2 separate regions of the Homo sapiens genome follow, and region 1 is linked to region 2. Evidence: promoter capture Hi-C in human tissues and cell types (Jung and others, 2019). All regions are on one chromosome and are shown on one strand. The core of a region is centred on a gene start or on the middle of the fragment in contact, and the rest is flanking DNA. Distances in the headings are between cores, read along the strand shown.

What was found. Contacts are between HindIII fragments. The study calls those that stand out against the background at their distance.
Region 1: a fragment that was not itself captured here is called in contact with the fragment with the promoter of CCDC17 in region 2 in 1 of the 25 tissues and cell types used here (ovary).

Annotation. Positions count from the first base shown.
Region 1 is chr1:45,780,925-45,784,140 of GRCh38, forward strand. It overlaps the pseudogene RPL6P1. Among named protein-coding and RNA genes, the nearest start is that of MAST2, 21 kb to the right of the region's middle. The HindIII fragment of the contact is 4,024 bases long and covers 1-3,216 here.
Region 2 is chr1:45,622,237-45,625,676 of GRCh38, forward strand. CCDC17 (coiled-coil domain containing 17) reads right to left here and starts at 1,818. Exons shown (of 13, transcript NM_001114938.3): 1 at 1,500-1,818; 2 at 1,321-1,416; 3 at 981-1,203; 4 at 719-881; 5 at 515-598; 6 at 313-431; 7 at 5-112. The coding sequence starts at 1,673. The HindIII fragment of the contact is 15,886 bases long and covers 1-3,440 here.

The DNA.
Region 1 (3,216 bases), core at 654-3,153, 160 kb after region 2:
TCTGCATAACTGCATGCTCTATCTGCAGCACTAGCAAAGAAAAGTTCTCCAGGCAGCTGATGCTTTGATACCACATGTAAGTGCCCAGCTTCTGTTCTGCAATATAGACTGCTGCGGTGTTGACTCCTGCTAATGAGGACCTCTGAACTTTCTCTACAAATATTGTCTTTCCAGAAAACAGAGCTGGGAGACCTGTATAGCCCAAAGGCAGCTATGGCTCCCAGGGAGGAGAAGAGGACCAGAAGAACTGGTGGCAGGGCAGAGAGGGGAACCAGGCAGGAGACAGCAGTGGCTGGAGAACAGGTGTGGGCAGACTGGAAGAAATGCAGACACTTGTTTCCCATCTTGCAAGATGGTGGGTGAAAAAGTTGAGAAGCCAGATGCTAAAGAGAAGAAACCCAAAGCCAAGAAGGCTGATGTTGGTGGCAAGGTGAAAAAGGGTAACCTCAAGGCTAAAAAGCCCAAGAAGGGAAAGCCCCATTGCAGCCGCAACCCTGTCCTTGTCAGAGGAATTGGCAGGTATTGCCGATCTGCCATGTATTCCAGAAAGGCCATGTACAAGAGGAAGTACTCAGCCGCTAAATCTAAGGTTGAAAAGAAAAAGAAGGAGAAGGTTCTTGCAACTGTTACAAAACCAGTTGGTTGTGACAAGAATGGCGGTGCCCGGGTGGTTAAACTTCGCAAAATGCCTAGATATTATCCTACTGAAGATGTGCCTCGAAAGCTGTTGAGCCATGGCAAAAAATCCTTCAGTCAGCACGTGAGAAAACTGCGAGCCAGCATCACTCCCGGGACCATTCTCATCATCCTCGCTGGATGCCATAGGGGCAAGAAGGTGGTTTTCCTGAAGCAGCTGGCTAGTGGTTTGTTACTTGTGACTGGACCTCTGGTCCTCAATCGAATTCCTCTACGAAGAACATACCAGAAATTTGTCATTGCCACCTCAACCAAAATTGATATCGGCAATGTAAAAATCCCCAAACATCTTATTGATACTTACTTCAAGAAGAAGAAGCTGTGGAAGCCCAGACACCTGATGTTGTTGGTGGATAGGAATGCTAGTGCTTTCTGCTAGTGATTGATTTTGTATCCTGAAACTTTGCTGAAGTTGTTTATCAGCTTAAGAAGCTTTTGGGGCCAAGCGAGGTGGCTCACACCTGTAATTCCAGCACTTTGGGAAGCCGAAGTGGGCGGATCACGAGGTCAGGAGATCGAGACCATCCTGGCTAGCATGGTGAAACCCCGTCTCTACTAAAAATACAAAAAATTACCTGGGCATGGTGGTGGGCGCCTGTAGTCCCAGCTACTCAGGAGGCTGAGGCAGGAGAATGGCATGAACCTGGGAGGTGGAGCTTGCAGTGAGCTGAGATAGCACCCCTGCACTCCAGCCTGGGTGACAGAGCGAGACTCCATCTCAAAAAAAAAAAAAAAAAAAAAGTAGATTGGAGCTGAGCGTAGTGGCTCACATCTGTAATCCCAGCACTTTGGGAGGCCGAGGTGGGAGAACCACTTGAGACCGGGAGTTCCAGACCAGCCTGGCTAGCATCGTGAAACCCTGTCTCTCCTAAAAATACAAAAAATAAGCTGGGGGTGGGGGGGTGTAAACCTGTAATCCCAGCTATATGGGGGATGCTGAGGCGTGAGAATCGCTTGAACCTGGGAGACAGAGGCTGTAGTGAGCTGAGATCATGCCACTGCACTCTAGCCTGGGCATCAGAGTAAGACTGTGTCTCAAAAAAAATAAATAAATAAAAAATAAAAGTAGATTGGAAAGCAATTGGTCTTCAAATGCTCATATCATTTGACCTAATAATTTCACTTAATCTATCCATTCTAAGAAGAGAAATTGACACATGGAGGCTATAGTAGACATCTCTTGGGGTATCTTCTCAGCTCACAAATGATTCACCATTTTTTGAGAATAGTGGAACTGATTCACATCACCACCTTTCTTATTCAAGCCTCAGAAGCAGAACCTTGATCCACTGACCACTGTTGATTAGACTGGGGTAGACACCTGGCCAAACTAGGTCAATTGTATTGTCTTTCTCACCTAGGAATTCTGGTTTAGTTTGGACTGATATCTAGAATGGAAGGAGTGTGAAAATTTAGGAACTGTATCACGGCTATTGTCCTCCAGATAGACTGAAAAACAGAGAAAGCCAGTCTGCAGAGAGAGGAGAATAGGGGCAGAGATGTGGAGAGAAGCAGAGATAAGATGTAGAGACAAAATATTCTCTGGAGCATTTCACCTACATTCTAGTCACTTTTTGTATTCCTACTTCTGCATCCTGAGAAACACTTCAGTATCCTTATAGCAGCTTATATCTTTTCCTTAAGCTAGCTTGGGTGAGTTTTGATTATTTGCATCCAAAATTGTATCATACTTTACTGATAATAATGGGAATATTGAGTACATACTTACAAGTTATTTGCATAGTACATTATCAAACTGCCATTTAATGTTTTAGAGAACTATTAATGACATGGAAAATTTTTGACACACGAAGAGTAAAAGTATTGAGATATACAATTTTGTGTGCATAGAAAAATTTTGCAGACACACAAAACTTCTAGTAATAATTACCCTGAAGTGAATTTTCATTTATTACTTCATATGCTTTGGGTTTATTTGAATTTATACATGGAACATTGCTAATATAATTAAGGTTACATTGAAAGTATTTTCTTTCTCTCTTTTTTTTTTTGAGATGGAGTCTCGCTCTGTCACCCAGTGGTGCAATCTCAGCTCACTGCAACCTCCACCTCCCGGATTCAAGCAATTCTTCTGCCTCAGCCTCCCTAGTAGCTGGGACTACAAGTGCACGCCACCATGCCTGGCTAATTTTTGTATTTTTAGTAGAGACAGGGTTTCACCATATTGGCCAGGCTGGTTCGAACTCCTGACTTTGTGATCCACCCACCTCAGCCTCCCAAAGTGCTGGGATTATAGGCATGAGCCACCGCACCCGGCCAAAAGCATTTTCTGTGTTGCTATATCCTTTTTATTTGGTATCATTTTAATGGTTGCATAAGGTTGCATTGTAACAGGATATCATAATTTATTAGGCCAGTACTTAACTATTAGGTTTTTGTTGTTGTTGTTGTTGTTGTTGTTGTTGTTTTTTGAGACAGAGTCTCGCTCTGTTGCCCACGCTGGAGTGCAGTGGCGGGATCTCGGCTCACTGCAAGCTCCGCCTTCCGGGTTCATGCCAT
Region 2 (3,440 bases), core at 568-3,067:
TGACCCAAGGGTGCCCGACCCCTCTGCATTTGCAAGGCCAAGATTTCTGCCTCCAAGCGCCGGTTTTCAGCCTCCACTACTGGAAGCTCCCCTGAGGTGGCACCTGCCCTTCCTGCGATGAACAAGTGTGACCTGTCACCTTTGACCTCTGGTGACTGGCCGCGTCCGGCTGTGAGCAGCTCTCCAGCGCTAAGGCTCTTCGGATAAGGCTGGACTTGTCAGCTCACATGCCATCCACAGCCACAGGCCCTCCCTCGAGTTCTTTTCTCCTCCCAGGACTGACCACCGCTGGCGAGAGGCCCTCCTGTTCACCTCTGCGGGTCTGCGACCGCTGCAGCTCCAGTGCAGACGCCTCCACCTGCAACTGCCATATCTGGCCCAGCACGCCGGGGTCCCGGCCCCCGTCTCGAATGTAGGCCTCCCGCAGCGCCCTAGGGAGTGGGGAACAGGAAGGCCGTCTTTCCAGAACTGCTCAGCGCTTCGCCCTATGCCCATCTCCGGCCCCGGCTCTCACCGGATTTCGGCAGCCAGAGTTCCCGGGTTGGCCTTTTGCACTGGAGAATAAAGTTCTGCCTCTCGCCGGGAGCTCAGCGGGTTCCTGGGGTGGCAGGCGACGCGCAGGGAGACGGTAACGCATCAGAGGCCCCGGGGCTGCAGCCAGCCCGCCCCTCCCACCCCGGAGCCGCATGTTCCGGGGATCCGCTTAGTCGGGTCTCACCCTGGCTCCGCCTGCAGCTCCTGAATGCGGGCCCCCAACACCTCTAGAGCTCCCCGCGTCCTCCCGGCCTCAGCTTGTAGTTCTCGAATCTCCTGCTCCAGGCCGAAGAGGCGGGACATCCCGCCCCGCGTACAGGCCACAACTTGGAGGCGTCGGCTCAGTTCTGAGGGAATGCGGGCCGAGTCAGAACCGGCCCGAGCAAGCTTAAGCCAAACGGCGAGGGCAGAGGAGGTCCTTGGTCCCCGTCCCCCATCTCCTTCACCCTCGCCGCGTAGCTGCAGGGCCCGGCTCTGCGCTTCCATCTCCGCCACGCGCCTCGCGCGAGTCCTGAACAGCGCCCGCAGCCGCTCGCTGGGGCTTCCCACCGCCTCGGACATGGGACTCTGAGGCCGCGCCTCGGAACGTGTCCAGGGCCCCGCGAACACCCTGGGGACCTCTGTTATCCAGGGCCGCATTTCCTGTAGGGATAGCCGCAGCCACTGCACCTGGAGGTAACAGCGATCCGCGATCTCTGCGTGGGCAGAATCTGTCCCAAGTATGATCTACAGGTTTGGGGAAGACGCTCAACGTTTTGAGCCCTGGGGGAAGGTAGGTAGCTCTACCTCCTCTGTTAACCTCTTTAGAGCAGATCTACTGGCCTGCTGGTCTGGGAGGCCCTGGGGTTCTTGTGGCACGCCCTGGTGTTCTTGTGGCACAACCTGGGGATAGGGTGTAGTAGGATGAGGAATCATAAAGGTCCTGGCTCCTTTGAATCCCCACCCATGGCCATGGAGGCCCTTACCGCGGCCCGCTGGGGTTCAGTGGCAACTGATGCCTGTGCTCCAAATGTCATCTCTTGGGTCGGGTGGCCAATGCAGAAGCGCTGAGTATGGGTGGCTAACAGAGCTGAGGAGCGGAAAACCATGTCACAGGTCCCACAGGGCAGGAGCGCAGGCTCCCCAGAGTGGGAGTCCATGGGATGGGACCCGTTTCCTGAAACCAGCCAAGACCTGCAGAAGGGATCAAGGGCAGGGGAAAGGCAGAGGAGGATGAAAGAGACATAAAGCCAGAGGCAGAGAGGAAAGGCCGTGTCTATTAGGTCTGTGAGATCTTCAAGTTTGTTTGGGGAGAGCCTTAGCTCCCTGGACAGCAACCACAGGGCTGGGCAGGTCAGGAGAATGGGTGGGGAAACCTCGGCCGTTTGGGAGGAGCCACTGGCTTGAAAAAGTGTTACAAAGTCTGAACGTGGGCAAGTCTCTAATTGTAGCTTGGTTTCCCTGACTATTAATAAAGAGGAAAAAGCAGCTGCCTCCTAGACTAGGCTGGGCCCTTATCACTTACTACATCATTGGTCATTTAATAGCCTCTAAAAGGCAAGTGTCATCTTTTTCATTGCTGTACTCCCAAGTGGATGTAACAGTTTGTACCATTCTCCAATCCAGAGAACTACCTGGCAAAGGAGGCACTCTGACCTTTCCAGCATTCTGCCTGGAAACCATGTCGCACCAGGGATAGCAGTCTCCCTAACTCCCATTCCCTGATTCCTCATTTTTCAGCTGTAGACGAAGATAATCAGCACAGCCCAAGAAATGAAAGCTGTGGGCGAACAGAATGAATCTATCAGATGAGGGAATCAAGTCCAGAAAAAAACCCCTTCTCTCTCCCAAGATTGGCCAGAAGCCAGAAAGACCCTGAACTGTTGGTGAAATTCTTCACTCCACTCCCACTCCCAAAATATATGGAGGAGCTCTGAGGTGACCGCATATTTCTTAAGAAACCCTCTTTACTTTTTTTTTTTTCTTTTTGAGATGGAGTCTCGCTGTCGCCCAGGCCGAAGTGCAGTGGCGCGATCTCAGCTCACTGCAATGAGCTCTGCCTCCTGGGTTCACGCCATTCTCCTGCCTCAGCCTCCCAAGTAGCTGAGACTACAGGTGCCCACCACCACGCTTGGCTCATTTTTTGTATTTTTTAGTAGAGACGGGGTTTCACCATGTTAGCCAGGATGGTCTTGATCTCCTGACCTCGTGATCTGCCCGCCTTGGCCTCCCAAAGTGCTGGGATTACAGGCGTAAGGCACTGCGCCCGGCCAAGAAACACCCTTTTCTCTTCTTTTTTTGAGACAGTCTCGCTCTGTTGCCCAGGCTACAGTGCAATGGCACGATCTCGGCTCACTGCAAGCTCTGCCTCCCAGGTTGACACCATTCTCCTGCCTCAGCCTCCCCAGTAGCTGGGACTACAGGCACCTGCCACCACACCCGGCTTTTTTTTTTTTTTTTTTTTAGACGGAGTCTCGCTCTTTCGCCCAGGCCGAAGTGCAGTGGCACTATCTGGGCTCACTGCAAGCTCCGCCTTCCGGGTTCAAGCCATTCTCCTGCCTCAGCCTCCCGAGTAGCTGAGACTACAGGTGCCCACCACTGTGCCCGGCTAATTTTTTTTGTATTTTTAGTAGAGATGGGGTTTCACCGTGTCAGCCAGGATGGTCTTGATCTCCTGACCTTGTGATCCGCCCGCCTCGGCGTGCCAAAGTGCTGAGATTACAGGCGTGAGCCACTGCGCCCAGCCTTATGCCTGGCTAATTTTTTGTATTTTTAGTAGAGACGGGGTTTCACAGTGTTAGCCAGGATGGTCTCGATCTCCTGACCTCGTGATTCCCCCGCCTCGGCCTCCCAAAGTGCTGGGATTACAGGTGTGAGCCACCATGCCTGGCCGAAACTCCCTTTTCTAAACAAGACAGGGACTTAAG